Regions from separate parts of the Homo sapiens genome. Here regions 1 and 2 are each linked to region 3. The links are contacts of gene promoters, found by promoter capture Hi-C in blood cells and fetal thymus (Javierre and others, 2016). All regions are on one chromosome and are shown on one strand. Each heading gives the region's core, a stretch centred on a gene start or on the middle of the fragment in contact. The rest is flanking DNA. Distances are from core to core; before and after follow the strand shown.

Region 1 (2,721 bases), core at 210-2,709, 210 kb after region 3:
AGAGGTTGCAGTGAGCAGAGATCACACCACTGCACTCCAGCCTGGGTGACAGAGCAAGACCCTGTCTATAAATAAATGAATAAATAAATAAAGCTTCAGGGTGGCCCGGTGCAGTGACACAAGCCTGTAATCCCAGCACTTTGGGAGGCCAATGCTGGTAGATCAATTGAGGTCAGGAGTTCGAGACCACCCTGGCCAACATGGTGAAACCCCATCTCTACTAAAAATACAAAAATTAGCTGGGCATGGTGGCGAATGCCTGTAATCACAGCTCTTCGGGAGGCTGAGGCAGGAGAATCACTTGAACCTGGGAGGTGGGGCTTGCAGTGAGCTGAGATCATGTCACTGCACTCCAGCCTGGGCAACAGAGCAAGACTCCATTTCAAAAAAAAACAACGAAAAACCCATCCTGGCTAACACGGTGAAACCCCATCTCTACTAAAAAAAAAAAAAAAAATACAAAAAATTAGCTGGGCGTGGTGGTGGGCGCCTGTAGTCCCAGCTACTCAGGAGGCTGAGGCAGGAGAATGGCATGAACCCAGGAAGCGGAGCTTGCAGTGAGCCGAGATTGCACCACTGCACTCCAGCCAGTCTGGGCAAGACTCCATCTCAAAAAAAAAAGGAAAAAAAAAAAAAAAGAGGCCGCGTGCAGTGGCTCACACCTATAATCCCAGCACTTTGGGAGGCCAAGGTGGGTGGATCACATGGTCAGGAGTTCAAGACCATCCTGGCCAAGATGGTGAAACCCCGTCTCTACTAAAAATACAAAAAATTAGCCGGGCATGGTGGCAGGTGCCTGTAATCCCAGCTACTCAGGAGGCTAAGGCAGAGAATCGCTTGAACCTGGAAGGTGGAGGTTGCAGTGAACTGAGATCGTGCCACTGCACTCCAGCCTGGGTGACAGAGTGAGACTCTGTCTCAAAAAAAAAAAAAGTAAATAAATAAATTAAATAAATAAATAAATGCTTCAGGGAGTCACTAGAGGAGGGGTGAAGATTCGGGGAGGAGAGAGGTCAGGTGTAGAAGATGGTGGCAGGGACAGGCTTCCACATACCAAGCTTGATCTGGGATAGGATGGAGAGGATATCACCTCTCCCTTTTTTTTTTTTGTTTTTTTGTGTGTGTATGTGTGTGTTTTTCTTTTTTGTTTTTTCAGCATCAGTTTGGTGAAAAAAAGGATGTCACCTCTTCCTGAGGAAGCAGAGAGGTGGGGGTGGAAACATGGAGCTATTTGCAGAGAAGTTCCTCAGAGGCATCTCCTTCCTCAGCGGCCCCTTCACTCAGTGGATTTGGAGACCAGGTTGTCTCAGGAGAGTAAAAAGAGACATAGAGGCCAGGGCTTCAGCAGAGAGGGTTGGAGCAGTCACAGGACAGGAGGAAGATGGAAAATTACCAGAGACACATAGAGAGGGTGTGGGCAGCCTTACTCAAATGTTTCTGCTGTGCCGGGCAGTGTGCTGGGCACCAGCGAGGCAAAACTGAGGAAGGCACAGGGCTGGGGAGTGTGTAGTGAGTACAGATGAGTAAAAAGAGGCTGGGGTGCTGCATTTGAAGTCTGTGTGAGGCACATCATGGGTGCAGAGAAAAGATCAGAAAAGACTCCATGGAGAAGGAGGTGCTTGGCCTGAGACTCGAGAGAGGAATAAACATTTGCCAAATAGACCAATAGGAGCCAGTGAGGGGTGGGACCCCCCCAGAACAGAAAAAGCAGCTGAGCAGAGGCGTGCGGTACAGGACAATGGTCAGAAGTGGCAGCCCCAGAGCCAGGACTAGGAGGAAGGGGAACGGGCTTGGGAAGAGCTTGGCTGAAGCAGCAGGCCTGGGTCCTAGAAGGGCTTGAATGCAGGCTTAGGAAGCTTAGCCTGTGTCCTGGAGGCGTGCGGAACTGGCAGAGGGTCTGGAGAGCACAGGCAGAATCGCCTTTTGGAAGGGTCACATGGTGACAAAACCCAGGATGGATTGGAGCCAGAGGAACTGGAGGCCAGGACCTGATAAGGAGGAAGCTGGCGTGGTCTGAGCTTAGAGGAAGCAGCTCTCGGGCTGCTGGCATACAGTATGGGGACTTCAACTAGGGCAGAAGCAGTGAGGTTGGAGCAGAGGGACAGATTGCACCGTATCAGGGAAACAAAAGTGGAAGGGGCTTGGGTCATTGTGGATGTGGGGAGTGAGGGAGGATTCTAGAATCACTCCCAAATTTCCCACTTGGGTGACTCAATAGAGGGTGGGGAGAGTTTAGAAGGAGCAGAGTTGGAGGATGAGATGATGAGTTCAGATTTGGGTATGCTGCATCGTGCCCTCTGGAGAGAGGCCAGTCAGGCACTTGGCTCCCGGGGTCTGGCGTTCAGGAACATCATGTGGATCGGAAAGACAGTGGTTGGAATGATGGCCCCATGGGGCAAAATGCAGTTGGCCAGGGTACACTCGGAGGGGCACAAAGATCGTGTGCATATGTGCACGTGCACACGTGTGTGTGTTCTTGGGTGGAACAAACCATGGGGAACCCACTCATCTGTGGACTGGATCTCTGTTCTTTGTTGACCCCAAAAGAGCCTGAAGAAGAGCAGGCTAGAAGGTAGGAGGAAAGCCAGGGGGGCAGAGTTGCAGAACCCCAGTGGAGATGGCATCAAGGGGAGTGGCTGCTGGCCATGCAGAGCAGGTGACATGGCAGAGAGAACCCTTGTGGGAGGTCTGAGGTGAAGCCCCCACATGTTGGTGACCTTG
Region 2 (2,700 bases), core at 153-2,652, 140 kb after region 3:
AGCATCAGGGGAGTATCTGGGAGATTGGAGGGAATAGATGATGTGGCCAGGACGAGGAACTGTAGATGGAGGAGGAGGGGAAAGCCAGGCCAATATTTTGGATTTTTACAAAAGGGAAACTTTCATATTAAGTGCTCCCTCCTCACCTCCAAGCCCACAATTCGTCTCCAGCAGCAGACAGGGCTGTTACCCAGTCTGGGGCCACGCAGGACCCCCAGGGCAGGCCTGCCTTGACCCTGGGAGCTGACTTGCTGTGCTTCTCACAGCCATGCAGGGAGGAGCCTCCTCTGTTAAACAGAGCTGTCCCTGGGTCCATTTAACAGCCAAAAAATAGGTTCAGAGAAGAAAACTCACTCAAGTTACACAGTGGTCAAGCTGGGGTTTGACTGAGTCCAAAGCTAATGTTGTTTTCACCAGCTGCCTATAACTTCTTATTACCAAAAATTTGGGGGACAAAGTTTAAGCTGTATTACTATCATTTAGCAGCATCCAACATTTATTGAGTACCGGTCATATACCAGGACAGCAGTAGACACTGGCGGCACAGAAGTAAGCAACACAGACTTAGTCCCTTTCTTCCTGGAGTTCACGGTCTAGTTCTATACATCTTATCTCTTGGTTATATAATCTAGTTATATACCCTTCATTCATTACAGAGCTCATTAGAAACTGCTTCCCAAACATCAGAACAAGGCCTACATATAGTCATCTCCAGGAAAAGGGTTATGGGTTCATCTTTCCAGCATACAGCCCCCATTCTCCAGACATGCCTAGAGGCTTAGTCTCATAAAAGTGACAGGGATTTGATGAGAGTTGGCTCCATGACATTTGCCAAACCACGAACATAAACACACAGAGAGAGATTCCTAGCTTCAGTCTGAGTGGCCACATGAAAAGCTACACACTCAGGACACACCCAACCAGAAACCGGAGGCAGCTGGCATTGTAGGTGGACAGGGTCATCAACCCAGCTTTCCTGAGGGAGGAGGGTCAGGTGAAGAGGGGCAGTGCCCTTTCCCGCCTCACCACCCAGGAAACCTTGCAGCAAGCAAGGTTTATGTCAGGGATTTCTGCTGCTTCTCAGACTAGGCAACACAATATGACTGAGGAAAGATATTGAGACTTAACGTGAAATACACTACTAACCAAAGGGCCCTACCTGCTTTCCCTTCTGGCCATATGATGATGTGTTCTATCTCCTGGATTCCCATAGATGAGTGGACGGCAGAGATCACTGTGTATTCCCCACAACAGATCATCAAAGTGTATGTTGGAAGCCACTGGTACGCAACCACCCTGCAGACACTGCTGAAGGTACTGACGGCCTCGGCTGCCCTGCTCCCCATCTGGCATCACCACCTGAGCTGCTCTGGGGGCCATCACCTGGCCCTCACACAGCTTCCAGCACTTGCTTAGAACAAAGGCTTTCCCGCCAGGCACGGTGGCTCATGCCTGTAATCCCAGCACTTTGGGAGGCTGAGGTGGGCAGATCACGAGATCAGGAGTTCAAGACCAGCCTGACCAACATGGTGAAACCCCGTCTGTACTAAAAATACAAAAATTAGCTGGGTGTGATGGCACGTGCCTGTAATCCCAGATACTTGGGAGGCTGAAGCACCAGAATTGTTTGAACCCAGGAGATAGAAGTTGCAGTGAGCTGAGATCGCGCCACTGCACTCCAACCTGGGTGACGGAGTGTGACTCTGCCTCAAAAAACAAAACAAAACAGAGCACAAGTGGACCGAGTGGCCTGCTGGGAAGGCCCTCCAGAGTTTGCATAGGGAGGGGGCCAGCTCTGAGGGACCTGGACTGAGAAGGAGGTACGGTGGGCTTCCAAATGCCTTGAGAGGGTGGTCTAGGGGCCATCAAAAGTTGAAGCAGGGATGATGTGCTTCTCCCTGGAAGCTCTGCTCCCCACCATGGTTCCTTGTGACTGACAAGACAGGGAAATGGAATCTCAAAGCCTCTGCTCTAGTGTAGTTGGAAAAGGGGAGTGAGAGAAGATTGACCTGCCCCTTCGCAAAGACCTAGCCTCTGAGACTGAGTCCGGTGTCCAACCCCCTCCAGTATCCAGAACTGCTGTCCAACCCTCAGAGAGTGTACTGGATCACATATGGACAAACCCTGCTCATCCACGGGGATGGCCAGATGTTCCGACACATTCTCAACTTCCTGAGACTTGGCAAACTGTTTTTACCATCTGAATTTAAGTAAGTGAAGCAAGGACGCAGTAAGATGAAATCACGAAGGCTGACCCCTCCCTTAGCAACAAAGGAGACCTGAGTTGCAGCCTTCAGGGAGGAGGTTATTTTATTTCCATCGTGGGAACTGTTGGCAGCGGCAGTTCCAGGAGCTCATGCTCCCTCCCACACCCTCATCCTAGCTGCCCAGCTGGATATCTCCTTGTTGTTTGCAGGGAATGGCCCCTCTTCTGCCAGGAGGTGGAGGAATACCACATTCCATCCCTCTCAGAAGCCCTTGCACAATGTGAAGCATACAAGTAAGAAAACTTTATCACGACTCTATGTTTAGAATTTGGTCCTTTAAATTCCTCTTGAAATCCTGTCCTAAGTCCTACTCCTAGAGGATCCTGATCTCCTTGGGGTTGAGGGAGTGAAGCAGGCCCAGGATTGGCCAGTGACCTAGGCAAAACCCTTTAAGAGCCCCTTCTTCCCTGCTGTCTAGCATTAACTCCCAGCC
Region 3 (2,700 bases), core at 86-2,585:
GACCGAGGTCTCTGAGAAGCCAGGTTGCTGGCTGCCCCAGCAAAGGCCCAGCGCAAGGACAAAGCCTGGAGCACCTGTCCAAAGCCGTGGGTATTGGCGAGAGACCAGGCTGCTCCTCCCACGATGCAATGGAGTCAGTGCCCCCTGGCCTTTCTCCCCCTCCCCACTTCCGGCGGGCCTCCAGCCCCCCCCCCCCTTCCCCTTCCCTCCCTCTGGTGACAGATTTATTCCCTGCTCCAGACAAAGGAGCTCAGCTAGGCGGCCAGAGGCACCTGAGCCCAGCTCTCTAAGAGCTCCTTCCTGGGCACAGAGGACCAGGAGGGCTTGGGGGTGGGGTGCTGGGTGTAGGCTCCAAACTACTGCCTCAGCAGTTTGGCAGTGGGTGGCTAGACAGAAAGACAGCTGAATGTCCAGCTGCCCCTCACGGTGACCTCTAGCTTTTCTGAACTCCAAGGATCCCAGCCAGTGGGGGATGGGTGGGGTGGGGAAGTTCCCCATCTAAGCTCTTCCCTCTGGCCCGAGGAATGGGAGATGGGTATCTTAGGTGGGGATGTCAGGCAGAGTTCAAGGGGTAACGATCCTCCCTTCTCAAGGCCTCCGAAGTCCCCTGAGACTGCTCTCTTGGGGAAGGGAATGGCATAAACTCTCAAACTCCAGGAGGTTCCCTCTTCTCAGCCACCAGTCAGTTTCCTTCTCGAACCGGCCCACTCCCTGTCTCACTTTCCCTCCAACACTCCCCGCAGCGGCAGGTAGTGAACCCGGGCTTGGGGAGGTGCCCGGCGCTCCCTATTTGGCTCGCTCCCTGCACCCAGGGGTGGAGAACTCTCCCACTCTTGCGCTGAGGAGCCCGCCTTGGCTGTGCCCATGGGGAGTCAGTCCTGTTGAGTGTCCAGTCCCGCCCTCGAGCCTGGAGTCCCCGCGCTCCGCGACCCGCGCACTCACCGGTGATGAGCACCGCGCGAGTGGCCACCGGCAGGCGCTGCGGGCGCGCCAGGCGGGACAACGCGATCCAGCCGGCGGCGGCCAGCACGGCGAGTGCGGCCGGCGGGGGCAGCAGGCGCTGGCACAGCCAGTCGAGCGCGGCCAGCAGCGCCAGCGCCGCCAGCAGCGGGCGGCCCAGACGCAGGTCTGAGCGCAGCAGCTGCAGCAGCGCGCGGGCAGCCACGAGCAGCCAGGCGCCGCCCGACGGCCAAGGCCAGCGCTCCATGGCGGCCCAGCGGGCTGGGGCGGGGCGGGGCGGGGGCCGGGCCGGGGAGCGGGGAGAGAGAGCTTCTAGGCCGGGGCGCGGAGTGCGGGGGTACACCGGCCTGGGGCGCGAGAGGGACACTCGCTTTCTCTGCTCGCCCTCGGGCCGAGCTTATGAAGAGCCCCGGGGGCGGGGGAGAGGGCGGGGAGCGGGAGGGGCGGGGGCGGGGCTTTCCTTCACTTCTCTCCCGGCACCCCCCGCAGGGCAGGTGCTCCCCCCCCGCCCCGCCCCCTCGACCAGATTCGATTTGGAAAAAGCCGGAACAAAGTCCCAAAGTTGCTGCGCTCGAGGAGCCGCCTGGCTGCGGGCGGTGCTTGGGAGAGGGCCCGTCGGTCCAGCCCGGGTGCCCGGCCTCAGCTCTCCGCCGCGCCCCCACCCACACGCCCGGGGCCGCCAAGCCGCCGCGCTCAGGTGAGCACATGCCACTCACGCTTGTTCGGGACACCTGAGGACACGCACAACCGGCATCCCGGTGCCCTTTGCTGATCGCACCACCGCGGCCGCCAAGCCTGCAGGAACACCGCGAGGAACCAGCCGGTGCTCACCCGGTCTCCGCTGCCGCTGCCGCTGCCGCCCGCGCCCGTACACGCGCCGCACTCCCACGTGGTCGGCTGCGCCAGGTCCCTGGCGCACACACCCTAAGGCGCGCTCACCCCTGAGCAGCTCGCGGCCACAAAACCTGCCTGGGACAGGGGCTGGCGGGGGAACAGGACGACCGCTCCCGGTTCTTGGAGTCTCTGCCCCGTCTTTCCCTTTCCTTCCAGGGCTTAAACCTGGGGACGCACAACCCCACTTCCTGCCTCACAAATGTATGTGTGTGGGGGTCAGTGGAGGGTGGGGTGTCAGAGGAAGCACCTAGGTCTCCCATTACTTATGGCCCACCCCCGCCAACCCCAAGAGCCAGGCCAGAGGGACGTCGGTGAAGGCAGCCTCTAGGACAGGGTGGTCCCTGCCTTGCTCCCCTGAACCCCCAGGGGGTAAAATAAGTGGTATGAGTGTGGGTGGATTTTTCTGCCTGCGTGTGTGAAGGTCTCCATGCTTGTGTGTGGCCCAGTGGCCCCCCACCCTGCCCACCCCCGTGTCTGGCACCCTGTGCCTAGCATCCATGCCAGGGCTCTGCCAGGCACTGGGAGTTGGTGCCAGTACCTGGCTGCAGGCTTGATGCTGAGAGCAGTAGGTGTAGCCCTCGACAGAGGGGTCCCTGCTTCCCGTGGGCTTCCAGGCCGTGCTCAGTGCCTCATCCCTGCCCTCCCAAGATCCTGGGAGGTTGTGGACTCCCTGTCACACTTCCTAGCCCTGTTGCTCATTCTCTCTTAGGTGCCCAGGCTCTGCCAGGGTTTCAGGGCAATGCCTCCTCCAAAGCCCTCTCTGCCACCAGACACAGCCCCCTGGTGAGCCAGGGAAATCTCAGGGGAGGCTGGGAGCCAGACCCACCTAAAGGGAGAGTCTCTGGG

What was found. Contacts are between HindIII fragments. The CHiCAGO score rates a contact against its expected background, and 5 or more counts as called.
Region 1: a contact is called between a fragment that was not itself captured here and the fragment with the promoter of HSD11B2 in region 3, in 3 of 17 cell types (endothelial precursors, megakaryocytes and M1 macrophages). The highest score is 5.9, in endothelial precursors.
Region 2: a fragment that was not itself captured here is called in contact with the fragment with the promoter of HSD11B2 in region 3 in 2 of 17 cell types (endothelial precursors and M1 macrophages); the score reaches 5.7 in endothelial precursors.

Annotation. Positions count from the first base shown.
Region 1 is chr16:67,216,394-67,219,114 of GRCh38, reverse strand. It overlaps the pseudogene FBXL9P. Among named protein-coding and RNA genes, the nearest start is that of TMEM208, 9.4 kb to the left of the region's middle. The HindIII fragment of the contact is 798 bases long and covers 1,061-1,858 here.
Region 2 is chr16:67,294,773-67,297,472 of GRCh38, reverse strand. KCTD19 (potassium channel tetramerization domain containing 19) reads left to right here. Exons shown (of 16, transcript NM_001100915.3): 8 at 1,214-1,314; 9 at 2,068-2,210; 10 at 2,417-2,500. Among named protein-coding and RNA genes, the nearest start is that of PLEKHG4, 17 kb to the right of the region's middle. The HindIII fragment of the contact is 2,833 bases long and covers 1-2,700 here.
Region 3 is chr16:67,429,756-67,432,455 of GRCh38, reverse strand. It overlaps HSD11B2 (hydroxysteroid 11-beta dehydrogenase 2), which reads right to left and starts at 1,335. Exons shown (of 5, transcript NM_000196.4): 1 at 943-1,335. The coding sequence starts at 1,207. RefSeq lists silencers at 1,217-1,396, 1,617-1,666. The HindIII fragment of the contact is 16,145 bases long and covers 1-2,700 here.